Linked DNA regions of Homo sapiens: regions 1, 2 and 4 are each linked to region 3. The links are contacts of gene promoters, found by promoter capture Hi-C in blood cells and fetal thymus (Javierre and others, 2016). All regions are on one chromosome and are shown on one strand. The core of a region is centred on a gene start or on the middle of the fragment in contact, and the rest is flanking DNA. Distances in the headings are between cores, read along the strand shown.

Region 1 (6,646 bases), core at 770-3,269, 320 kb before region 3:
TTAAAATTGTGAAGTCTTTCCAGAACACTAAGCTTAATTTTTCTTTTTTTTTTTTTGGAGACAGTCTCTCTCTGTCGCCCAGGCTGGAGGAGTGCAGTGGCATGATCTCAGCTCAATGCAACCTCCGCCTCCCTGGTTCAAGCAATTCTCCTGCCTCAGCCTCCCAAGTAGCTAGGATTACAGGTATGTGCCGCCACACCCGTTTTGTATTTTTAGTAGACATGGGGTTTTGCCACGTTGGTCAGGGTGGTCTCAAACTTCTGGCCACAAGTGATCCGCCTGCTTCGGCCTTCCAAAGTGCTGGGATAACAGGCATGAACCACTGCACCCAGCCACAAAGCTTAATTTCTAATAGAAACATAAATTGAAGGCTGGGTACTGTGGCTCACACAATGAGCCTTGGGAGGCTGAGGCAGGAAGATCCCTTGAGCCCAGGGGTTTGAGACTAGCCTGGGCAACATAGAGACACTCTGTCTCTACAAAAAAATACAAAAATTAGCTGGGCATGGTGGCGCACCCTGTAATCCCAGCTACTTGGGAGGCTGAGGTGGGAGGATGGCTTGAGCCTGGGAAGTCGAGGCTGCACTGAGCTATGATCCTGCCACTGCACTCCAGCCTGGGTGACAGAAGGAGAGCCTATTTCATAAATAAATACATGTTTCTAACTCATATGTGGGGAAAACGAGGCTCAGAGAGGTGAAGAAACTTACTTCAGATCACACAACTAACACATGGCTGAACTGATGAAACTCTGGTCTGCCTTATTCCAAAGCCAGGGCTTTTACATGAACCGTCATGCAGAGACCTCTTAGCAAATCCAAATATTTCTGGTAACACTTTTCATAGAGGATAATGGTTTGGAACTAAGCAATGGAACACTTGGAGTGAAGAAGGATAACAAACCTAAACGACTTGACATTTGACATGTAAACAGCATTTTAAAATAAGCTTTTCAATAGCTTTACAGGCCCTAGCATCAGTGAAAACTAGCTGTAGTTTTTATACACTGCTTTCCTTCCTATTACATACAAATCTTAAAATATGCTCAGAGACAGGAAGTAGAATGGTGGTTGCCAGGGACCTGGGGGAAGGAGGGCAATAGGGAATTACTATTCAAAGGGGACAGGGTTTTAGTTTTACAAGCTGTAAGAGTTAAGGAGCTGGATAGTGGTGATGGTTATACATTACGAATACACTCAATATCCCTGAAATGTATACTGAAAAATGGGTAAAGTGGCACATTTTATGTTATGTATATTTTACCACCATAAAAATTTTGGATAAAAATATGCTCAGAAATTTAGACAGACATGCTAAGTTTAAAGATTCAAAGGTTAGAATTCTAAACTCCTAGGCTGGGCGTGGTAGCTCATGCCTGTAATCCCAACACTTTGGGAGGCTGAGGCGGGAGGATCACTTGAGTCCAAGAGTTCAAGACCAGCCTGGGCAACATAGTGAAACCCATCTCTATTTAAAAAAGAATTCTAAACTCCCTAACTGAATCCTGATAAAGAATAAATTTGGAGTTTTGCCAGTTTTTAGATGGCACCATTTCAGCCACCTCAATTCTTGCCACCTCCAATTTCCACCCTAATTCTCAGGATCGGTGGTTTTCCACTAAGCACTCATAGCTTTGTTGCAATTAGAAATATAAAATCAGTATTACTCTGCACTTTACTGCCAATGGTAGATGAGAAACTGGAACCTCAAAAAGATAATTTAGCAAACTGCAAAACAAAGTCCATTCAAGATCTGGTACAATCAACTCTTGATCATTTGGAATTTTGTTTTGATTTGCTTGCTGAACAATGCAGTCCCTGGTTCTCTCCCTGGCTGCTGGGGACATGCCCTTACAGGCTCGGGGGAAAAAAGCAGTGGTTCAATACTGTTTCCTGACAACTGCACTGGTTATTAAACACAACTACGAAATAAACTTAGGAAGATGTATAACTACCAAACTATGTTTTATGATGATAACTGTTCATTTTAGGCCTACCATTTCTTTCACCTGTGACCCAAGTAATTCAGAGGTGAGATGTACGAGCCTGTCTGAGGCATTTTAGACAAGGGAGAAGGTGCCTACACAAGTACCAAACAATGCAGTGTTAAAACTGCTTTCCATAGGTGGCAATCTTCTATGATGCTTAAGCATTGTAAAGCAGTGACATTTGTTCATGTGGACATAATTAAAATAATTGAGGCCGGGCGCGGTGGCTAATGCCTGTAATCCCAGCACTTTGGGAGGCTGAGGCAGGAGAATCGCTTAAACCCGGGAGGTGGAGGTTGCAGTGAGCCGAGATCACACCATTGCACTCCAGCTTGGGCAACAAGAGTGAAACTCCATCTCAAAAAAAAAAAAAAAGAATACACATGTATAAATGAATATGTAAATTCACCAACAAGTTTTTAAAACTACTTCTGAAAGTAGCAATACTTTATGTAGTTTCACATTAATATGAAGCCAAATAGAAAATTCCAAGTAAGTGAGACATAGAAGATGCTTAACAGTAAAGAGACTTTCTATTAGGAAGTTCAAGTGATGCACAGTGCTACCTAGGAAACTCTCCTATCAGTTTTTGGAGTACACCTGGGGCAAATGGCTAATATTTTCATCTGCTGTGGAGATTTGAAATTAATAGCATCTTAATAGAATTTTACTTCTGATTGTTCCTGGCACCCCCAAATGTCAAAATTTGACACCAGAAGAGCTGGCAAATGTGTCTGAAGGAAATTTTTTTAAATCCCCACACTCAGTTTAATAAGGTCACCTTATTGTAGTCCCAATGCAACTAAAACTTAAATTGACCACGCTGTTTAAGAAGAATTTTTCTGGGTACTTCTGTGAACGTTTTTTGGAACTAGGAAAAAAAAAAAAACCCTAGTTATTAAATTTCGAAATGACTTGAGAACAAATTTGATGTTTAGAAACCTAACCCAAAGGCGATAATTTCATGTCATCCAACATTTACTTCTTTTTTTATTAGCAAATAAAATGTTCTTTGGAATGACAATAGCTCCACCTACACCGGCACACTTCCACGTTACAGTATCATGAACATTAGCTACACTCCTGCCCCGAAACAAGCTTTTGTCTGAGCCGTTCCCAAACCAAGGTATTAAAAGTGATCATTCTTTACCAAACAAAGATACTTTTGGACTGCAACCCAGGAGACTGAACACCTCAGTGTGTATTATTGTGGTGTTATCCTGGGAAAGTAATCCTTTCTGCAAGAAAACACAAAGCCCAAGTGTGTCCTTGACAAACAGCAAGATGTTCATAGCCTATATTCTAACGAGGCAACTTGTATTTAAAAAATAAAATAAAAAAAAGTGCAGAGTCCTGGAATTAAACACCATGAGCTCTCTATTCAAAGATGTTTCTTTTAAGCAAAGTGTTTCAATTATACATAGTTGTCTGCATTTGACAACAATCAGGACGACGCTAAATGCGGTTCCTTCTCCAGATCAGAGCGAGAAACCAAGGAGAAATGAAATTGTGCCAAAGAGCACGTAGCACCTGTCAAGGCACTGTGACCCAAGAAAGATTAATACAAAGAAGCTACGATGGATTTATCTCCTTGGTCTCCCCCCGCCCGCAAGGAGTCGTACCATCCCCGGGCCAGAGCCGCCAAATCCCTGCCTCACACGTAAGGGGAAGGGAATCGCCCCTCTTGGCTGCCGACCTTCCCCAGTCGGCCGGCCTCGTGGCGAAGGGGCCAGGGGCCTGCAAGGCGGGCAGGCAACAGAGGGCCGCGAAAGAGGCCGGGACCGGAGCGGGGCAGGCCGTGTGGCCCGTACCCCAGCGCCACAGCTCAGCCCCGCACTGGTCCTACCGTAGGGGGGATGGGGCTGGAAGCGGGCGCTCGTCTCCGGGCATCGGCGCCGCCGCGGCCAAGGCAGGGCAAAAACCAACACGTTGTCGTTGGCGGGAGGCAGTGGAAGGGATCCGCCCCGCAAGCAAGACCCCGGGAGCCCAGCCGCCGCCGCCCCGTCTCCGAGCGCGCCATTTCCAGGCCCCGGCCCTCCAGGCGCCGCTCCTAGGCCTCCGCGGGCCCCCGCCTCCCGCCGCCCCGGCTGAGCGCAGGACGGCCGCCACCCTGACGGCCCCGACTCCGCCGGTCCCGCAGCCCCCGACGGGGCCCGCGCACGCCCGCCTCACCCTCTGCCGCCGCCGAAGCTGCTGTAGGCCCGATCGTCGTAGGTGTCGAAGTCCGCCATTTGCCGTCTCCGCTCCGAGAGGAACCAGGGTGAGCGAGGAAGGACCCCGCAATATAACTCCCCCCGCCCCGCCGCCGGGGCTGTCCGCCGCGCCGCCTGATCGCAAATCCCTTGGACGCAGGCACGCGCACGCGCGCGCGCGCACGCACGCACGGACGCTGGCCGCGCAGCGCCCGGCCCTGGGCCCACCGGCAGCTGCCTGCCCCGTGCGCTCTGCAGCCCACGTGGTGCGGCGGCGTCCCAGCTGGACGCCTGCCCGGCCTACGCGGCCCATTATGTGCTGGCCCTGGGGTGCGCCCGTGGCTGCCTCCTATCCCCGCCGCACCACGCCCGTGCGCGCCGGCCTTTCCGTCCGTCGGCGGGAGGTGACCTGGAGAGCTGGGGGGAACTCCCTCTCCAGTTCGCCTGGGACGCTGCCTTTCGGCCTCCATACATGGCGGGGACCTCGGAGGCCTGTCCCGCTTGGACCCCCAAGTGGTCCCCGGGTGACACCCAAGTAAAGGCCACCTCCTTCTCCAGGCAGGAGCTGGCCACACGATGAGGATGCCCCGGAAGGGGGTGCGAGGCGGTGGGATGCAGACACGAATCCTGCCTTCCAGGGCTTACTCGCTGCCTGGGTATTGGGGGGTTTTGAGAGGAGAGAGTATAGGTGATCGGTGACTTAGCAAGAGAGACTGCACATCTCGGTTTTTTGCAGAAGTCGTTGCCTTGGAAAAAGAATTGGATACTGTTGTGGATTCCATCATCTAGCAATAACAAAACATGGTTATGCAGTGGGAATTAATTACACGGGTAAATTTCCAGGTTTGTGATTGAGATGGTAGTAATTGTGGATGCCACGATGTTGACAAACCTTAATTATCTAAGCACACTTTGAAAGAACCTCATAGAATTTTGTTGTGATGTGTACCTAGGTATCTTCCGCTTAACCATTACTTTTTATTATGTATTTATTGGTTCGTTGTTGAGACAGGGTCTCGCTCTGTCGCCCAGGCTGGACTGCGGTGGAACAGTGGTAGCTCACGGCAGCCTTGACCTCTTGGGCTCATGCCATCCTGCCGCCTTAGCCTCTGGAGTAGCTAGGACTATAGGCGGGCAGTACCTCGCCTAATTTGCATTTTTTTTTTTTTTTTTTTGAGATGGAGAATCAGGTTGGAGTGCAGTGGCGCAATCTCATCTCACTGCAACCTCCACCTCCTCGGTTCAAGCAATTCTCCTGCCTCTGTCTCCCGAGTAACTGGGGTGACAGACGTGCACCACCACACCCAGTTAATTTTTGTATTTTTAGTAGAGACAGCGTTTCACCATGTTGCCCAGGCTGGTCTTGAACTGAGATCCACCCGCCTTGGCCTCCCAAAGTGCTGGGATTACAGGCATGAGCCACCGTGCCTGGCTCTAATTTGCTTTGTAAAACATTTATTTGTAGAGACAGAGTCTCACTATGTTGCCCAGGTTTGTCTCGATCTACTGGCTTTTAAGTAGTCCTCCTGCCTCTGCCTCCTAAAGTGCTGGAATTACAAGCATGAGCCACTGTGCCCTGCCAACTTTTATATTTGAGTATCTTCTCCTTCATAGCAGTGTTAAGATGGACAGAGCATTATCAATTCATGAGTTAATAGTGTTGAACTCACTTATTCATTTTTCTGTGCCTTTTTCTTCCCAAGTAATAAAACACTTTGCTGCCTGATAGACCTAGATTGAACCTAGGCTCAGTTAACGTCTTACTGGCTGAGTGACCTCGAGGACGTTGCTTAACCGCTTTAACATGCCTGTTTTCTCATCTATATAATAATGTCACCTACCTCTTCAGTGTTGTAAAGATTCAAATTAGTAAATATGTAAAATTCCTGGCACACAATATATATTGGGGACCTACCAAGGTGTCTGGCACCATTATGGGTGCTTTACCTGTAGATAATAATTTCCAAACCTGTTTAACAGCTGTGGAACCACCCAGAGAGAAAGAGACTTGCCCAAGGTCACCTAGTTTTGACCTTAGCACATGGCTCAGAAAATAACCAATGGTTTCTTCTCCTTGCGCAGTTTAAACTTGGACCCCTGCTCCATGCTCCTGCCCCCATTACTCTATTACTCTTATTTACTTTCTTTTTTTTTTTGTTTTTGGTAGAGATGGGTCTTGCCATGTTGCCAAGGCGGGTCTTTTTTTTTTTTTTGAGACAGAGTCTGGCTGTGTCACCCAGGCTGGAGTGCAGTGGCGCAATCTCGGCTCACTGCAAGCTCCGCCTCCCAGGTTCATGCCATTCTCCTGCCTCAGCCTCCTGAGTAGCTGGGACTACAGGCGCCCGCCACTACGCCCGACTAATTTTTTGTATTTTTAGTAGAGACGGGGTTTCACCGTGTTAGCCAGGATGGTCTTGATCTAACCTTGTGATCCGCCCGCCTTGGCCTCCCAAAGTGCTGGGATTAC
Region 2 (6,156 bases), core at 1,247-3,746, 290 kb before region 3:
CCATGTTGGCCAGGCTGGTCTCGATCTCTTGACTTCATGATCTGCCCGCCTCGGCCTCCCAAAGTGCTGGGATTACAGGCATGAGCCACCATGCCCAGCCTCTGTTGGTTTTTTTGAGACAGGGTCTCAGTCAGTTACCCAGGCTGAAGTGCAGTGGCGCGATCTTAGCAATCTTAGCTCACTGCAGCCTCAATCTCCTGGGCTCAAGTGATCTTCCTACCTCAGCCTTCCAAGTAGCTGGAACTACAGGCATGTGTCACCACGCTAATTTTTCTTTTCTTTTCTTTTCTTTTTTTTTTTTTTTTTTTTTTTTTGAGACCGAATCTCACTCTGTCACCCAGGCTGGAGTACAGTAGTGTGATCACGGCTCACTAAAACCTCTGCCTCCCAGGCTCAAGCGATCCTCCCACCTCAGCCTCCCAAGTAGCTGTGACTACAGGTTTGCACCACCACATCCAGCTGATTTTTTTGTTTGTTTGTTTGTTTGGTAGAGACAGGGTCTTGGCTGTGTTGCAGAGACTGGTCTCGAACTTCTGGGCTCACACAATTCTCCCACCTCTGCCTCCCAGGTGGTGTGATTACAGGTGTGAGCCACTGCCCCCAGCCCAGGAAGAAGCTGTGTTCTATGCTGATACCGTTTCTCTGTGGGGATCCTCAAACTGGTTGGTATTAGCTATTTCACAGGAATTTGGGGCCTGAAAAACATCTTAAGCAATCTTTACAGTAAGCCTTATGATCCTAGTGTCAGAGATCCTGTCTGTAGGAACAATGGGATGCAATGGTCAGGAACTAGTGCTACGTGACATTTAGCAACAACGAAGTAGGCCAAAGTGCAGCCTGAAGGATGCTAATTATAACAATATTTCTGTCCGGAACCGGGCGTGCAGTTCTTGTCAACCCTGTGGGGACGGTTTCAGTCCTTTTGGTGAAGGTGTGGCTCCTGAAGGATGAAGTGATCTCAGTTCTAACTCTGTACCTTAGGTGGGCCTCCGCTTGTCTCCCGTACCCCACATGGGATTTAAAACAAGCCTTGGCAAGGTGTAGTGGCTCACACCTGTCATCCAAACACTTTCGCAGGCCAAGGCAGGTGGATCACCTGAGATCAGGAGTTCAAGAGCAGCCTGGCCAACGTGATAAAACCCCATCTCTACTAAAAATACAAAAACTAGCTGGGCGTGGCTGCGCATCCCTCTAATCCCAATTACTCAGGAGGCCAAGGCACGAGAATCACTTGAACCCGGGAGGCGGAGGTTGCAGTGAGCTGACATCACGCTATTGCACTCCAGCCTGGGGGACAGAGCAAGACTCTGTCTCAAAAAATAAATTAATTAATAAATAAAAAATAAAACACAAGCCCTGGCCAGGTGCGGTGGCTCACACCTGTAATCCAAACACTTTGGGAGGCAGAGGCAGGAGGATTGCTTGAGACTATGAGTTTAAAACCAGCCCCAGGCAACATGGCAAGACCCCCATCTCTCCAAAAACTTTAAAACATTATCCAGTTGTGCTAGTGCACACCTGTTGTCCCAGCTAATCAGGATGCGGAGGCAGGAGGATGACTTGAGCCCAAGAGCTCGAGGCTGCAGTGAGCTATGGTTGTGCCACTGCCTTCCAGCCTGGGTGACAGAGCAAGACCCTGTCTTACAATAATAATAATAAATAAATAACCAAAACATAAGCCCCGATTGCTCACCCCATCCTCACTCCGGGGCAGAAGCAATGAGAGCTCACCAGTTGTTCTTTGCATGGATCAGTCTTTTCTCGTTTCTGCCTTTGGAGATTTCCTTTTCTTTCTTGGAAATGCAGCTGTGAATTTGAAATAAATTTTTCTTTTTCTTTTTTTTTTGATATGGAATTTCTCTCTGTCACCCAGGCTGGAGTGCAGTGGCGCAATCTCGGCTCACTGCAAGCTCCGCCTCCTGGGTTCACGCCATTCTCCTGCCTCAGCCTCCCAAGTAGCCGGAGGCTACCCGCCATCATGCCTGGCTCATTTTTGTGTACTTAGTAGAGACGGGGTTTCACCATGTTAGCCAGGATGGCCTCAATCTCCTGACCTCATGATCCGCCTGCCTCGGCCTCCAAAAGTGCTGGGATTACAGGCGTGAGCCACCGCGCCTGGCCGAAATAAATTTTTCTTACATTTTATTGACCATTTTAAGGATTTTGTGATGGGAAAATGTTCAGATTATTTGTTTGTTTGTTTGTTTATTTTTTGAGACAGACTCTTGCTCTGTTGCCCAGGCTGGAATGCAGTGGCACAATCTCGGCTCACTGCAACCTCCGCCTCCCAGGTTCAAGCTATTCTCCTGCCTCAGCCTCCTGAGCAGCTGGGATTACAGGTGTGTGCCACCACACCCAGCTAATTTTTGTATTTTTAGTAGAGACAGGGTTTCACCATGTTGGCCAGGCTGGTCTCGAACTCCTGACCTCATGTGATCCGCCCTCCTCGACCTCCCAAAGTGCTGGGATTACAGGCGTGAGCCACCACACCTGGACCAGATTATTTTGCATGCAAAATCAGAAATACACAGGGAGCTATTCGCTGAGCTATCAAGCACTGGGAAATGTAGCCAATGTGACTGAGGAACTGACTTTTCAATTATATTTCATTTGAATTACTTTTCATTTAAGATTAAGTAGCCACATGTGGCTAGAGGCTTTCATACTGGACAGGGCAGCCGTAGAAAGGAAGGAGGAACTCATCACTGCCCTAGTAGCTGGGACGGCTCAGGTCATAGCCTAATCCCAGGGCGTGGAACCTGCATTCTAACCCTGCCCTTGTCCAGGTCTCCCAGGTCCTTGGTGGAGGTCAAGATAGAAGGAAGTGGTTGGCCTGGATTCCATACCTTGAATTTGGACCTAGGAAGTGGCTGATGAATGGATTAGCCAGCCTGGAGGTCAGCCAGGCCGGAGAGGAAGCCTCAGGGCTTTGGAATAGGCCTTGCCCGTTTCCAGTTTGGGGGTGGGGCACAAAGTTGAGTAGGATCAGGACGACTTTTTTTCTTTTTTTTGAGACGGAGTTTCACTCTTGTTGCCCAGGCTAGAGTGCAGTAGCGCGATCTCAGCTCACTACAACCTCCGCCTCCCGGGTTCAAGTGATTCTCCTGCCTCAGCCTCCCGAATAGCTGGGATTACAGGCATGTGCCACAATGCCCGGCTAATTTTGTATTTTTAGCAGAGAGAGGGTTTCTCCATGTTGGCCAGGCTGGTCTCAAACTCCTGACCTCAGGTGATCCACCCACCTTGGCCTCCCAAAGTGCTGGGATTACAGGCGTGAGCCATTGGGCTTGGCCTGTTGTTTTTATTTTATTTTTTTGAGATGGAGTCTGGCTCTATTGCCCAGGCTGGAGTGCAGTGGCGCAATCTCGCCTCACTGCAACCTCTGGCTCCCCGGTTCAAGCAATTCTCCTGCCTCAGTCTCTCCGAGTAGCTGGGATTACAGGCGTGTGCCACCACACCAGGCTACTTTTTGTATTTTTAGTAGAGATGTTGGCCAGGCTGGTCTTGAACTCCTGGCCTCATGTGATCCACCCGCCTCGGCTTCCCAAAATGCTGGGATTACAGGTGTGAGCCACTGCGCCCAGCCTTTATTTTTAAAAGTAAGTTTACAGCTGGGTGCGGTGGCTCACGCCTGTAATCCCAGCACTTTAGGAGGCCAAGGCGGGCAGATCACGAGGTCAGGAGTTTGAGACTAGCCTGACCAACTTGGTGAAACCCCGTCTCTACTAAAAATACAAAAATTAGCTGGGTGTGGTGGCACACGTCTGTAGTCCCAGCTGTTCAGGAGTCTGAGGCAGGAGAATCGCTTGAACCCGGGAGGTGGAGGTTGCACTGAGCCGAGATCGCGCCATTGCGCTCCAGCCTGGGCAATAGAGCAAGACTCTATCTCAAAAAAAAAAAAAAAAAAAAAAAGTAAGTTTACTTGCACAATATGCAAGATTCAAAAACTATCCATGAGGCCAGGCACGGTGGCTCACAGCTATAATTCCAGCACTTTGGGAGGCCGAGGCCGGGGGATCACTTGAGGTCAGGAGTTCAAGACCAGCCTGGCCAACATGGTGAAACCCCATCTCCATTAAAAATACAAAAATTAGATGGGTGTGGCGGGCGCCTGTAATCCCAGCTACTCAGGAGGCTGAGGCAGGAGAATCGCTTGCACCCAGGAGGCGGAGGTTGCAGTGAGCCGAGATCGCACCATTGCACTCCAGCCTGGGCAACAGAGTGAGTCTCTGTCTCTAAAAAAAAAAAAAAAACAAAAACCTTCCAGGGGTATATGGTATAAAGTTTGTCTCCCGCATACTCTGGGCAACAGGCCATCCAATTCCCCTTCCCAGTGACAACTATTGTCCCTCAACAAGTTCTCAAGGGCCATATGGATTTCCTTTTGACCTGCCAAACAGATCGGGAGTGCCTGTGGGGCAGGGTTGATCTTGTCCGTTCCCCGCAGGCTCTCTGCGGACACTAAGGAAGGGTGTGATGCTTGGGCAGATTGCAGCCATGTGAGGACAGGGGCTGGTAAGAGGGAATATGAGAGCTGTAAGGAGGGCTCCAGCCTCACACTCGACTTTGTGAACCCCTCCCTGGCTGAAGAAAGGACAGCAGCACTACCGACAAGCTATCAACCACCAGCTTCTTGGAGGGTTCAAGGGTGGGAATGGGAATTTGTTCCTGGCCAGTGCCTTCTCCATAAAATCAGTCATTGCTGTTTTTGTATTAAAATTTTTTTCTTTTTTTCTTTTTCTTTTTTTTGAGACAGAGTCTCACTCTGTTGCCCAGGCTGGAATGCAGTGGCACGATCTTGGCTCACTGCAACCTCCACCTCCTGGGTTCAAGCAAGTCTCCTGCCTCAGCCTCCCGAATGGCTGGGACTATAGGCGCCCACCACCACGCCCGGCTAATTTTTGTATTTTTAGTAGAGACGGGTTTCGCCATGTTGACCAGGCTGGTCTTGAACTTCTGACCTCAGGTGATCTGCCCACCTCAGCCTCCCAACGTGCTGGGATTATAGGCGTGAGCCACCGTGCCCGGCCTTATTTAAATCAAGCCCCTGCCTTCTCTGTTAGAGAATATCGTGACTGTGATCAAGTATCAAGTACTTGAGCCCCTTCTCCTTTTTTCTCTTTCCTTGTTGATGGCACCAGCTCTCTGCTGGAGAATATCTTTTAGCGTTAAACACAAACAAAGAAACTAAGAACAACAACAACATCAAAAAGTGCAAGGCTGCAGTAAGCCCTGATCACACTGCTGCACTCCAGCCTGGGCGACAGAGCGAGACTGTGTCTCAAAAAAAAAAAAAATTCTTTTTATTTTCTGAGACAGGGTCTCGCTCTGTCGCCCAGGCTGGAGTGCAGTGGTGCGAGCCTGGCTCAGCCCATGGGGATGGTGGTGAGCTCCTCCATTTATTTATTTATCTGGAGTCTCACTCTGCCACCAAGGCTGGAGTGCAGCAGTGCAATCACAGCTCACTGCAGCGTCAAATTCCTGGGTTCAAGTGATGCTCACACCTCAGCCTCCCAAGTAGGTGGGACTACAGGCACACCCCACCATGCCCAGCTAATTTGTAAAAACTTTTCTGTAGAGATGGGGGATGGTCTCATAATGTTGCCCAGGCTGGTCTTGAACTCCTGGCCTCAAATGATTCTCCTGCCTCAGCCTCCCAAAGTGCTGGAATTACAGGCATGAACCACTGTGCTCTGCTGGATAATGACCTTTCTCGAGCAATTACTATGTGCTCTGCTGTATCGGGTACCATCTAGTTTGATCATATATTAGACATGCAAGATAAGCTTTATCCGCTCCCTCCCCCTTTTTTTTTTTTTTTTTTGAGACGAAGTTTCACTCTTGTTGCCCAGGCTGCAGTGCAATGGCACGATCTCAGCTCACTGCAGTCTCTGCCTCCTGGGTTCAGGAGATTCTCCTGCTTCAGCCTCCTGAATAGCTGGGATTATAGGCGCCTGCCATCACGCCCAACTAATTTTTTGTATTTTTAGTAGAGATGGGTTTCACCACGTTGGCCAGGCTGGTCTTGAACCAGCCTCAGCCTCCCGTGATCCACTGGCCTCGGCCTCCCAAAGTGCTGGGATTGCAGGTGTGAGCCACTTTGCCCAGCCAGCTTTCTCCCTCTTTTATGCTGACCACGAAGTGTCTGCCAAGAGT
Region 3 (6,936 bases), core at 1,217-3,716:
TGAGGTCAAGATTTCGAGACCAGCCTGGTCAACCTGGTGAAACCCCATCTCTACTAAAAATACAAAAATTAGCTGGGCATGATGGTGCATGCCTGTAATCCCAGCTACTCGGGAGGCTGAGGCAGGAGAATTGCTTGAACCCAGGAGGCGGAGGTTGCAGTTTGCCCAGATCGTGCCACTGCACTCCAGCCTGGGTAACAGAGTGAGACTCCATCTCAAAAAAAAAAAAAAAGAATTCCAGATTTCTGATCTGGGTGGTGAGTTGGACAACGGTGTCTCCCATTCACTGAGATGAAGCTGCAGGACTGGGGTGAGGTGGGGGAAAGCTGTTCTTGAGTCCTGGAGACCCTTCATCAGAGCTGGAAAGCCCCCAGCCCTTGAGTGACACCAATCCACCCACCTGGACCCCCCATCCCCGTGTCCACAGGCCCCACCATCTGAGATTGGCTGCAAGACCCCCCACTCACGGGCTGGATTTGCAGAGCTTGGGACGTGGAGGGTGGAGCTATGCTGAGACCAAAGGGTCCAGCAGGGAGAAGAATTAGGGTAGAGCTAGGAAATAGGACCTCCCAGGTTATGGTGCTGAGACCAGGGAGGAGGGAAACCTATGATATCCCACATGATCCCACAAGATCATTTCTATAGGAGAGGAAACGGGCTCAGAGTGGTGAAGTGATTTGCCCAAATTCACACAGCTAGAGGGTAAAACAGCCAAGATGCAAATCTTTTTTTTTTTTTTTTTTTTTTTTTTTCTGAGACAGGGTTTTGCTCTTGTTGCCCAGGGTTGCCCAGGCTGGAGTGCAATGGTGGGATCTCGGCTCACCGCAACCTCCGCCTCCCAGGTTCAAGCGATTCTCCTGCCTCAGCCTCTTGAGTAGCTGGGATTACAGGCATGCACCACCACGCGTGGCTAATTTTGTATTTTTAGTAGAGACAAGGTTTCTTCATGTTAGTCAGGCTGGTCTGGAACTCCTGACCTCAGGTGATCTGCCCGCCTCGGCCTCCCAAAGTGCTGGGATTACAGGTGTGAGCCACAGCTCCCGGTCCCAAGATGCAAATCTAATGGTGTCTGTCTTTCTCAACTGCCCCCTGTTATATGATCTTGGCTGACTGCAGCCTTGGCCTCCCAGGCTCAATCTATACTCCCACCTCGGCCTCCTAAGTGTGACTGAGTTGTGACCCCGACCACAAGCATGTGTATGTTTAAAAGAGATGAATGGGCCAGGTGCGGTGGCTCACACCTGTAATCCCAGAACTTTGGGAGGCCGAGGTGGGTGGATTACGAGGTCAGGAGTTTGAGACCAGCCTGGCCAATGCGGTGAAACCCTGTCTCTACTAAAGATACAAAAAATTAGCTGGGCGTGGTGGCGCACGCCTGTAATCCCAGCTACTTGGAAGGCTGAGGCAGGAGAATTGCTTGAACCTGGAGGTGGAAGTTGCAGTGAGCCGAGATCGCACCATTACACTGCAGCCTGCGCGACAGGGCAAGACTGCATCTGAAAAAAAAAAAAAGAGAGAGAGATGAATGAGCCAGGCGCAGTGGCTTATGTCTGTAATCCCAGCACTTTGGGGAGCTGAGGCGGGCAGATCACAAGGTCAGGAGATCGAGACCATCCTGGCTAACAGGGTCTCTACTAAAAATACAAAAAAAAAAAAAAATTAGCCAGGGATGATGGCACGTGCCTGTAGTCCCAGCTACTTGGGAGGCTGAGGCAGAAGAACTGCTTGAACCCAGGAGGCAGAGGTTGCAGTGAGCCGAGATCGCACCACTGCACTCCAGCCTGGGCAACAGAGCGAGACTCTGTCTCAAAAAAAAGAAAAAATGAATGGGAAAAACAATGATTCACCCATAGGAGTGACCCTCAATAGAGAAAATGCTGCCAGGTGCGGTGGCTCACACCTATAATCCCAGCACCTCAGGAAGCTGAGGTAGGAGGATCATGTGAGGCCAAGAGTTGGAGACCCGCCTGGGCAACGTAGTGAGACACCATCTCTACAAAATACAAAAATTAGTCAGGCGTGGTGGTGCACACCTATAGTCCCGGCTACTTGGAGGCTGAGGGGGGAGGATTGCTTGAGACCGGGAGTTGGAGGCTGCAACGAGCTGAGCCGGCACCACTGCGCTCCAGGCTGGGCGACAGAGCGAGACCCTGTCTCTAAATAAAGAAAAGAAAAGAAAATGTCAGCACTGTAGTTTGGAGTGGGGCTTCTGGGAGATGTCAGATTATTCTGGAAGGCAGGCAGCCACCTCGTTCCACTGGATGGGACAGGCAGGGCTTGGGCCCGGCAGCTCTGAGGTGGCTCTGTGAAGGGCCTGGTGTGTGGTCCCCACCCCACTTACCCCCAGCCCCCACTCACCAGCACTGAGAGCCTCGTAACCTGCAACAGGATCCCCAAAAGGCTGGATCTGACTGGAGGAAGGGCCTCCATGTCTGGCCTCCCCCACCTACTCCAGCTGGGAGAAGCAGGGTGACCTCACAGATGCCACAGGGTGGGGACCAAGTTACCATGGGGACCCGGTTGCCGCCAGTGACCCACTGCCTTTACCTGGCTCCTGCCGCTCCACTGCTTCCTCTGAAACCTCAGTCCACGTCTGAGCCCAACACGGCCAAGGAGGTCTTAGAGCAAAGCTTCCTTCGGGTCGGATTTCCCCAGATCTTGGAACAGGAATCAAGTGCCGCCTAGGAACGGGGTTCATGCCTGGATTCCCAATGCTTTGGGAGGCCAAGGTAGGAGGATCGCTTGAGGCCAGGAGTTTGAGACCAGCATGGGCAACATAGCAAGACCCTGTCTTACAAAAAAACAAAAAAAGAAAAAAATTAACCAGCCTTGGTCATGCACACCTGTAGTCCCAACTACTCAGGAGTCTAAAGTGGGAGAATCGCTTGAGCCCAGGAGATAGAAGTTGCAGTGAGCCAGGATCACTCAAGCCTGGGTGACAGAGCAAGACCCTATCTCTAAACAAAGAAAAAAAATTGAAGGGTGATGAGTTTATTTGGGGAGTGGGCCCTGCAAGCATCCATAGGAAGTCAGAAAGTGAGGCAAGGGGCCAGGCACAGTGGCTCACACCTGTAATCCCAGCACTTTGGAAGGCCGAGGCAGGCAGATCACGAGGTCAGGAGTTTGAGACCTGTTGGGAACAGGCCCCCAAAATCTGGCCATAAACTGGCCCCAAAACTGGCCATAAACAAAATCTCTGCAGCACTGTGACATGTTCGTGATGGCCATGACACCCACGGTGGAAGGTTGTGGGTTTACCGGAATGAGGGCAAGGAACACCTGGCCCACCCAGGGCGGAAAACTGCTTAAAGGCGTTCTTAAACCACAAACAAGAGCATGAGTGATCTGTGCCTTAAGGACATGCTCCTGCTGCAGATAACTAGCCAAACACATCCCTTTATTTGGGCCCAATCCCTTTGTTTCCCATAAGGGATACTTCTATGGGAATCTAATCTAATCTATAGTTAATCTAATATCTATAGAAACAATGCTAATGACTGGCTTGCTGTTAATAAATACGTGGGTAAATCTCCGTTTGAGGCTCTCAGCTCTGAAGGCTGTGAGACCCCCTGATTTCCCACTTCACACCTCTTTATTTCTCTGTGTGTGTGTGTGTGTGTGTGTGTGTGTGTGTGTGTGTTTAATTCCTCTAGTGCTGCTGGGTTAGGGTCTCCCCAGCCAAGCTGGTCTCAGCAGAGACCAGCCTGACCAACATGGTGAAACCCCGTCTCTACTAAAAATACAAAAAAAAAAAAAAATTGGCCTGGCATGGTGGCGTGCACCTATAATCTCAGCTGCTCAGGAGGCTGAGGCAGGAGAATTGCTTGAACCCAGAAGGCAGAGGTTGCAGTGAGCTGAGATCATGCCACTGTACTCCAGCCTGGGCAAGAGAGTGAGACTCTGTGATAAAAAGAGGGAAGGGGAGGGGAGGGGAGGGGAGGGGGAGAGAGAGAGAGAGAGAAAGAAAGAAAGAAGAAAGAAAGAAAAAGAAAGAAAGAGAAAGAAAAAGAAGGAAAGAAAGAAAGAGAAAGAAAAGAAAGAAAAAGAGAGAAAGAAAAAGAAAGAAAGAAAGAAAAAGGAAGGAAGGAAAGAAAAGAAAGAGAAAGAAAAGAAAGAGAGGCAAGGACAGATGAGTTCATGAGCAGGGTTTGAGTTCAGACAACCGGGGCTGATCCCCAAAATCCCCTGGAAAATGGTGCAGAACGCACCTCAGAGTCACCCCACCCAAGGAGCATGAATACTGGGGTATTTATCTTCCATGACCTGTCTGCTTCCTGTTGGACATTAACTCCCGCTGAACCTCCAATCTTACCAGCACAAACACCAGAGAAAGCCCTCCAGCAGATGGTCGGGTGGGGGTCTTGCAGCAGGCGGCTCAAGCAGTGTGCATGGAAACTAAGGCAGAGGACTCTGGGGTAGGGACAGCAAAAAGGAATCCAGAACAAATAAACCCCTAGACATGTGATGATGGGAGCCTTGACCAGGGCTGAGGCCCTGGAAATGGAGACAACAGATGCCAGAAATCTGTAGCAGGTACAACAGATAGAATTGGAGGATGTCAAGACCCACGATGATCTGAGACGTTGCCCAATTTCATGCTAACAAGTTAGCCAACCAGAGCTCCACAGCTGCCACAGGAAGACATGAGACTCCCAGGTCAGAGATCAAAGACAATGTTACTCATGGCAATAGCAGTGAACTAGGTTATAAGCATTTTCCATTCATTCCTTGAGCTCCAAATCCCACAGGGTGATATGACAAGGGCCAGATGATGCCTGGCAGTATCTGAGGTGGGTGTGTTACAGGAGAGGTGGCTTGAGTTTAGGGAACCCAAATCTTTTCTTTTCTTTTTTTTTTTTTTTTTTTTTTTTTGAGATGGAGTCTTGCTCTGTCACCCAGTGCAGTGGTACAATCTCGGCTCACTGCAACCTCCACTTCCCGGGTTCAAGCAATTCTCCTGCCTCAGCCTCCCAAGTAGCTGGGATTATAGGCGCCTACCACCATACCCGGCTACTTTTTTGTATTTTTAGTAGAGACAGGGTTTCTCCAGCTTGGCCAGGCTGGTCTCAGACTCCTAACCTCAGGTGATGCACCCGCCAGCGCCTCCCAAAGTGCTGGGATTACAGGTGGGAGCCACCTCGCCCAGCCTTCTTTTTTTCTTTTTTTGAGATGGAGTCTCACTCTGTCGCCCAGGCTGGAGTGCAGTGGCACCATCTCCACTCGCCGCAACTTCCGCCTCCCAGGTTCAAGCAATTCTCCTGCCTCAGCCTCCCGAGTAGCTGGGATTACAGGCTCGCACCACCAAGCCCAGCTAATTTTTGTATTTTTAGTAGGGATGGGGTTTCACCATATTGGCCAGGCTGGTCTCGAACTCCTGACCTCAGGTGATCCGCCTGCCAGCGCCTCCCAAAGTGCTGGGATTACAGGCATGAGTCACCGCGCCTGGCCAGGAAACCCAAATCTTTTCTAATGTGCAGTAAGCAGGGCTGCCTTTTGCCCCAGAAGGAGACATTATGTCTTCCAAGGTTGTCTGATATACAGATATCCTAGAAAAGAAAGTCCAGGGCAAAAGGCAATCCATTAGTGCCTCACTCACAAGACATACAGAAATGTGAAAGACACATAGACAGAGGCATCCCAACAGAGGAATGAACAGGAAAAGAAGTAAAGCGAGACAGGGGTCAGGGATACCCCCAACCCAGAAGACTTGAGTGAAAGGCAGAAAGTAGCGCTGCCCACCAAGTGGGGGCGGGGAAGAGAAGGAGTAGGTTTGGGGAGAGAGGCAAAGGGATTGCTGGGGGTCAGAAGGTGGTGGCTGAGCCGGGTGCAGTGGCTCACTCCTGTAATCCTAGCACTTTCAGAGGCCAAAGCAGGTGGATCACTTGAGGCCAGGAGTTCAAGACCAGCCTGGGCAGCATGATGAAACCTGGTCTCTACCAAAAATATAAAAATTAGCTGGGTGTAGTGGTGCATCCCTGTAATCCCAGCTACTCAGGAGGCTGAGGCAAGAGAATCTCTTGAACCCGGGAGGCAGAGGTTGCAGTAAGCCGAGATCAGGCAACTGCACTCCAGCCTGGGTGACAGAGCAAGACTCCATCTCAAAAAAAAAAAAGAAGGGAAGGAAGGAAGGAAGGAAGGAAGGAAGGAAGGAAGGAAGGAAGGAGGGAGGGAGGGAGAAAAGAAAAGAAAAGAAAGAGAGGTGGCTGAGACTGGGATTTGCAGTTTGTTTTCCCTCCTCTCTTTGGTTTGCCACCACCATCACCTGGTATCCCTGTCCCCAGAACTCCACTGCCACAGAGGCTGAGCTGATATCTCCAGCCTCATACTGACCACACTCCCCGTGGTCAGTGTGGGAGCTAGAGCAGAAGAGACCTCACTCTGTCCCACAGCCCCTATGGGCAGCCCCATGGGAATGCTAGGCACATGTCTCAGTCCCAGCTCTAGTCACCTGCCCTTCCCTGCCCCCACCAAAGCCCTGGTCTTAGTCCCCAAGCTAGACTCCAGCCAGGGCTCTTTGTGGCTCTGTGGCTGCCCAGACCACAGGAACAGGTGCCCACAGAAGCCTGGATACCTAGTGTCAGAGGTCAGGAGCCTCCACTGGGGTGTGAAACCGACTCAGGATGTCCCCTAAGCTAACTGAGGGAGAGCAGTCCCAACCACGCAGGTCCACAAGCCAGAAACCCCGGGATCACCTTCTCATCTTCCTGCCTTCTCCCCTTCCTGCCAAGCCACTTCTGAAGGCAAGGGCCACGAACCTGCCTCACTGCTGCATCCCATGCCTAGAACGGTGCCAGGGGCACAGAAGGAGCTCTGTGTAAATTTGTTGAATTAAGAAATGAAAGCTGGCTGGGCACAGTGGCTAATGCCTGTAATCCCAGCACTTTGGGAGGCCAAGGCTGGTGGATCACCTCAGATCAGGAATTCTAGACCAGCCTG
Region 4 (6,398 bases), core at 3,899-6,398, 330 kb before region 3:
AAGTAGTTGAAGCAAAAGAGTTACTCTAGGCTCCCACCTGAACAGCCCTTGCCTGCCTTACTAAAATTTAGTCGTGGTCCGGGGTCCTCCATCACCAGACAATGCTCCTACCTCAAGGTAGGCAAGGTCTGCCTTGGCCAGGCCCTTCCAAAGTCAGCCAGGACTTTGCCAAACACGCATTCATGCCCCGCACCTTGCCCACTCAGCTCTTCTTTGTCTGCCTAAGTCAATTTTAACACTATCCAATACCAACCTATAGCAGCACCTCCCCAGAGTCAGGATCTGCTGTCAGGAAGCAGCAGCCCTCCCAGCCATGAGGGGCACCTAGAATTTCGTTTACAAGCAGTTGTTAAAAGAAGCCACATGTTGTGTAAATGCTTGATTTCTTCCATCTTGGGAAAAAAATGTTCCTTTACCTAACCAAAAACAGCCAGACTTTCAAGGTTTCTGCCTGGTTGGGAAAAGGACATTTTTAGCAAGTGAGGGGAAAAAATTGGCATCCTATTTCTAATCATCACCAGCTTTTAAAATAACTTCACTCATCCCAGAATTAAAATGACAGGAAGACTCTTCCATTTCAATGGTGCTTCCCAAATTTAAAATTGTTACATTCCATGAGCAGCTAAAAAGAACTCAAAAATAAAGGCAAGCATTAAATATTACGTAAGGTTTTCTTTTATTTAAAAGATCATTCACAAAATACCATATCCATAGATTTACTTTCTGTCATATAGCTGAATGTGTTAAGTGTTTGGAATTCCATTCTTACATTTAAAAGTCAACTGGATTGCCCAGCAGTTTAGATGCATGTGTTTTGTTCTTTATCTTATCCACATTGAAGATGTAAGTAGGTCATCTGAAAGCATCGGGTTTGATTACACCACATAATGCATGTCTTTCTGAAGTTAAGTGTTGGTGTTACACAAATGGTTCTTATCTCAGAAGCAGAGAAGCTGACAGGTGGAAGGAAGGAGAGAGAGTTCTGTGGATTGCTGAGGCCTTGTAACAAGACACAGTAGGAAAAGCCCAGGATGACGGCTGGTGACCAAATACTAAGCACATTCCGCTGGGTGCCCCAGGCCACCCTGGCCCTGCCATCACCTGGCGAGGGCCTCTTTCCCAGGCTCCTGCTGCCGGCCGCCCCCAAACTGCTCCCCATAGGACAGACTGGGACTTGGGTACTGAAGGATTTTTCATCTGTTCACACGCAGGCGTTCAAGCTCAAAAGCCTAACCCCTAGCACTCCCACATAACTGCTGAACCCTGCACATGGGAACAGTCCAGTGTGTCCCCAAGATGTGGCCGCAGACCTAGACAGCTGCAGTCCTCTACTGCTATCTGAAGGTTCCTGACAGCTCTGCATAGTACAATTTATCAAAGGAAATGAGTAAAGTGCCAGATTCTAGACCCATTTTGGCTCTGAACTGAAGGGGAGGTGGGAAGCACAGTATCTCATTATGTTGCCTATACTAGGAACAGATCCACACAACACACAGGCAACAGGGATGGGGGGAAACGCTGCGTCAGCGCCGCAGTCAGCCCAGTGCAGCACCAGCACCACCCCCTCCACCCCCAAAGCGCCTTGGCCCAGCAGAAAAGAAACCCGCTGGCCATTCACTGCACCCAGCCAGAGAGGCCAGCCTCCACCACGCACGGCGAAAGGAGTGAACTAGCTGGGACACACACACGTGTGAATGCATGCAAGCATTCACTGCATCTTCTCCGTGGACTCCCTACCGCTCTTCCATAGCCCCCCCTTTCAGCCTCACTGTTTCTCGTGTGAGCCTATCTGCTTGGACAGTCCACTCGGGAGGGGGTCATGGAGCCAGGACTCCCTCTAAATAGGAATGGAAAGGACCCTGCAGATATTTTTATCCTAGTTGTGAAAACAAGGTGCCTCTGATTCTCTATATCCATCACAGCTGAATACCAACAAGGTCTCTGCTGTTCCCTCTGTCAGTGACTCTGGTTTTTGTTGGAAGCCCCAGCAATACAGAACTCAACATGCAGGTCAGAAGAGAAGCACTGAGGGAATGAAAGGAAACGCCTGGAGTTGGGCCAGTGTCTAAAGTAAAGAGAAAGCAAAGGAAAAATGACGCAGCACCGCAGCCCAAACGCCCCCCCACGGCGGCCACCTCTGCTCCTCCGAGGAACCCCATGTGCTGCTGGGAAAACAAGGAGCAGGAGAAAAAGGACAGAAGGAAAATGGGGAAGCAGCGGAAGAAAGAAAAAAACGCACAAACAGGCACTAGATAGATACAGCAAAGCCCAGAATGTACTAAAAACCACTTGTTAACAGCTGACATGCACTCACAAGCTGTGTTTCCGCTGTGAGGAGGCCAATGGCAGGCGCAGGAGTGGCGGCTGCAGGACGGCTGCCCGGGGACTCACCAGGCTGTGGTCCTGCTCTAACCCCCCACGCCCCATTCCCTCCCAACCGCAGGCTCATTCTTGCTCCTTTTGAACGACTTCCTCTCTAGGCCTGGCACCCCCGAAGATAGCAGAGTTGGGATTGGCTACTTGATTGAGGGGCGTCGCGACTGTTCGAGGTTTAAGCTGGAGTCGTGGTCTCTGTGCTCTTTCCTCTGGGGGAGAAAAAGCAGAGTTTGTCAGAGTGTGGATCCCATTCCATATCCAGCAAAACGACCATGCTGATGTTGCTGTCAGCAAACCAGCCCACTTTCTAAAATTCACCTGGCCTGCTACCCCAACAGCAGATGCTCTAATGACCAAGGTGAACTTGCTATTCCAGAGAACGTGGGGATCTATGCCGACAACTCTGTGTGCCGTAGAACGCCAAGTCCCCACGGGGTGTGAACCGGCCATGATCATCCCATCAGGACAAGATGCCCTCCACTGACACATGAGCCCGTACCTTCTGTGGGTTCTCTGAAATCCATGTTGGATCCACGGAGGGGAGGGCCATCTCTGAAGCGGCTGCCCATGGGGGGGCCTGTTCGCCGGTCGCCTGGGCGACTACCTCCCCTGCCCCCTAAGAAGTCATCCCTGAAGCCTGAGGAAGAAACAGGACACTGAATTACTTTTCAAACTATCGTCTCCAAGCTGCTTATAGAATAATGTTCTGGGAATTGTTTGAGTTTCATTTTAAATTCTTTAGTTTGTCCACTATCTGAAGTCTCTCCAAAATAAAGTGTGTTAAAAGTGGGTCCAAATGCCAATGTGTGGAGTAATGACAGCGCTAACAGACTTCCCAAAGAAAAAGGAATCAAGATCTTAGGAGAGCAAACAAACGAGCTGTTTACATGCTCAGCTTGCATGAAAAGTAGAAAAATATTAATACCACGAAACTGTATTTTAATACGGCTTAAGCAAAACAAGAAAGCCTCAAAGCAGGTTGAACTCTATTTTCTAATAGAAATCTATACAGCTATTTTAAAAGATAAACCTGAAATTTAGAAGTATTTACAACTCAGAACACAAAAATCACAAGAAAACGCTATATGAAGACAAAATAAAAACACAAAGTCCCAATTTTCCTGTTTTGGCTGCGTTTTAGGTGTGGGCCATTCTACAAGCAAAGCACCTGTGTGGTAAACAAAGCAGTTATCCGAAATTGGCCATGCCCTACACAGAGGGGCATGAGCAGAGAGCACAGCGCCTCACCCCCACCGGCGCCTCCTGTGGGGGCAAAGCGTTCTTTCCCCATTCATTTGTGTGCCTGCTAAGTGGGCTCTTGGCAGAAGTAAACTGCATCTCATTTAGAAATGCTGAATTCCCACTGGTGTGTAGGAGGAAAGAGTATTTTCTCAATGGTCTTAAGGGGCCTTCAGGCTTGTACTTCAGTGAAAGCTAAACTTTAACTGTATAACCTACTGATGTTAAAATTTGGTAAAAAGACTGGTTCACGCCTGTAATCCCAGCACTTTGGGAGGCTGAGGTGGGAGGTGAGTATAGGAGTTCAGGACCAGACTGGGCAACACAGTGAGACTCACTCTCTACAAAAAACACAAAAATTAGCTGGGCATGGTGGCGCACGCCTGGGGTTCCAGCTACTCATGAGGCTGAGGCAGGATAATCGCTCGAACCTGGAAGGTAGAGGGTGCAGTGAGCCAAGATCGTGCCATTACACTTCAGCCTGGGTGATGAAGTGAGACTCTGTCTCAAGGAAAAAAAAAAAAAACTGGCGAAAAGAAGTTAAACCATAATTAAACAAATGAGCTTGCTGCTGTTGGTTGCGCACTCAGGGGGTGCCACTGCTACTCTCTGCGAGAGTGGTGCCAAGGCTCCAAGCTTTCAGGGAGCTTGTCTTTGAGAAGAACCCCCAGAGCCCGCAGTATGCACTATACAGTCATCCTCATTATCCACAGATCCCATATTTGCAAATCCACCCAGTCGCTAAAATTCATGTGTAATCCCAAGCTAGATACCAGCAGCATTTCTCCAGTCAGTCCTGGACCTGCACAGATGCGACGATCCCAGCTGAGGCAGAAAACGATAATGCTCTGCCTGTTTCAGTTATTAGCTGTCAAGTCTTTTCACGATGAGTGTCGGGTGTTTTGCCCTTTGGGCTTTTTCTGGTGACATCGCTGTCTGAAGTGGCCCCAGGTGCAGTGTGAAGTGCTGTCTGCTGTTCTTAAGTGCAGGCTGGCTGTCAGGTGTCTTACAGACAAAACCGGTGTGGGATGAGCTTTCTAACAGGCTGAAATGATGGCACCACAGACTACTTACTACAGCTGGCCCTGAGTTCAATGTTAACACTATTAAATGAATCAACACTAACATTAAATGAGGCGTCTTTAAAATCAAGGTCACATAGGCTGGGTGTGGTGGCTCACGCCTGTAATCCCAGCACTCTGGGAGGCAGAGGTGGGCAGATCACCTGAGGCTGGGAGTTCGAGACCAGCCTGACCAACACGGAGAGACCCCGTCTCTACTAAAAATATAAAAATTAGCTGGGTGTGGTGGTGTGCGCCTGTAATCCCAGCTACTTGGGAGGCTGAGGCAGGAGAATCGCTTGAACCCTGGAGGCGGAGATTGCAGTGAACCGAAATCATGCCACTGCACTCCAGCCTGGGCAACAGAGTGAGCCTCTGTCTCAAAAAAAAAAAAAAGAAAAAAAAAAAAGTCACATAAAGCAATGTTAGGTATGATCAGCTGACGAAAATGTTGTGATCTGTAGCACACAGGAGCAGCACCGCACGGGCTCATTCAGTGTTCTAGCAACTCCACAGAACCACCTCCAATGATAAGCGCTGACTGCATCACCTGTGGTGGGGGCCGATTTCTATTCTTTAAAGGTGGCAAGGGTTTTGGAAACCAAGGGATCTCACACCCAGTTCAGAGACTGAGTTAAATAATAAATTTTAACAAACCAAGTAATGAAAGCAAGTCTGAACAGATTTAGACCAATAAGAGCACTGCTTTAGGGGAAATACACTGGGAGGCATACAGTCGAGTATAAGGTCCTTTACAAAGTATTTTACCCACATTACACAGTTCAGTGAACAAGCCTAGTTAGTATTAAAACATTTAACTTCACGTTTCCCCCAAACTAAACTGTGAAGTGTACCTTTCCACGTGAGTACAAAGTAAATTTACACCCTTTACTATGAGATTAAATGATTTCGACCACCAATGTCTAGCGTGAAACAAATAGCTCACACCACGCTGGTGAAGCAGATGAACAAGGATCTCTCATCAAATCTGTTGGTGGGGGCCGGGCGCGGTGGCTCATGCCTGTAATCCCAGCACTTTGGGAGGCCGAGGCAGGTGGATCACGAGGTCAGGAGATCGAGACCATCCTGGCTAACATGATGAAACCCCGTCTCTGCTAAAAATACAAAAAATTAGCCGGGCGTGGTGGTGGGTGCCTGTAGTCCCAGCTACTTGGGAGGCTGAGGCAGGAGAATGGCATGAACCCAGGAGGCAGAGCTTGCAGTGAGCCGAGATCGCACCACTGCACTCCAGCCTGGGCAACAGAGCAAGACTCCGTCTCAAAAAAAACAACAACAAAAAATCTGTTGGTGGGTTTCTAGGAAGCAAACTATTCATGAGAATCTTCAGAGTTTTCTTTACAAAGCTTAGTTTAACACTGGCTATTTCTGATGATGAAATGTTTTTGCTTTCTTGGTACTTTTCTGTTGCTCTATTTTGTTTTTTACATGAGCAGGTATCATTAAAAAAAATAGCACCATCCTATTAAAAAGTAAAAAAGATCTACTCTCGCAAATAACGTATAAAGTATCAAATTAGCCATTACTCCATCGAGTGAGCCCACATAGGGTTTGAGATGTCACCAAAACACTGCAGTTCCCACCAGAACTGGTGGCGGCCAGGCCATGGCCGTGTTCACTGTGTCTCTGCTTGAGCGCCAGTGGCCAAGCTAAGCCAAGGGTAGAAAGACGTTAGTATGTGGGCAACTTCTATAACACCTGCGA

The links. The method cuts DNA at HindIII sites, captures the fragments that hold promoters and counts their contacts. A CHiCAGO score of 5 or more calls a contact.
Region 1: a fragment that was not itself captured here is called in contact with the fragment with the promoter of TMEM270 in region 3 in 4 of 17 cell types (megakaryocytes, M1 macrophages, endothelial precursors and 1 more); the score reaches 7.0 in megakaryocytes.
Region 2: a contact is called between a fragment that was not itself captured here and the fragment with the promoter of TMEM270 in region 3, in 1 of 17 cell types (M1 macrophages). The highest score is 5.2, in M1 macrophages.
Region 4: a fragment that was not itself captured here is called in contact with the fragment with the promoter of TMEM270 in region 3 in 2 of 17 cell types (megakaryocytes and M2 macrophages); the score reaches 5.5 in megakaryocytes.

What each region holds. Positions count from the first base shown.
Region 1 is chr7:74,171,956-74,178,601 of GRCh38, reverse strand. It overlaps EIF4H (eukaryotic translation initiation factor 4H), which reads right to left and starts at 4,246. Exons shown (of 7, transcript NM_022170.2): 1 at 4,160-4,246. The coding sequence starts at 4,218. RefSeq lists enhancers at 3,181-3,693, 3,694-4,207, 4,189-4,483 and a silencer at 3,986-4,495. The HindIII fragment of the contact is 2,137 bases long and covers 951-3,087 here.
Region 2 is chr7:74,150,647-74,156,802 of GRCh38, reverse strand. No RefSeq gene overlaps it. Among named protein-coding and RNA genes, the nearest start is that of EIF4H, 21 kb to the left of the region's middle. The HindIII fragment of the contact is 6,585 bases long and covers 1-5,788 here.
Region 3 is chr7:73,856,689-73,863,624 of GRCh38, reverse strand. TMEM270 (transmembrane protein 270) reads right to left here and starts at 2,466. Exons shown (of 3, transcript NM_182504.4): 1 at 2,359-2,466. The coding sequence starts at 2,430. The HindIII fragment of the contact is 5,367 bases long and covers 1-2,632 here.
Region 4 is chr7:74,191,356-74,197,753 of GRCh38, reverse strand. EIF4H (eukaryotic translation initiation factor 4H) reads right to left here. Exons shown (of 7, transcript NM_022170.2): 6 at 2,876-3,013; 7 at 658-2,585. The coding sequence ends at 2,446. Among named protein-coding and RNA genes, the nearest start is that of MIR590, 3.4 kb to the right of the region's middle. RefSeq lists an enhancer at 1,114-1,615. The HindIII fragment of the contact is 1,789 bases long and covers 4,254-6,042 here.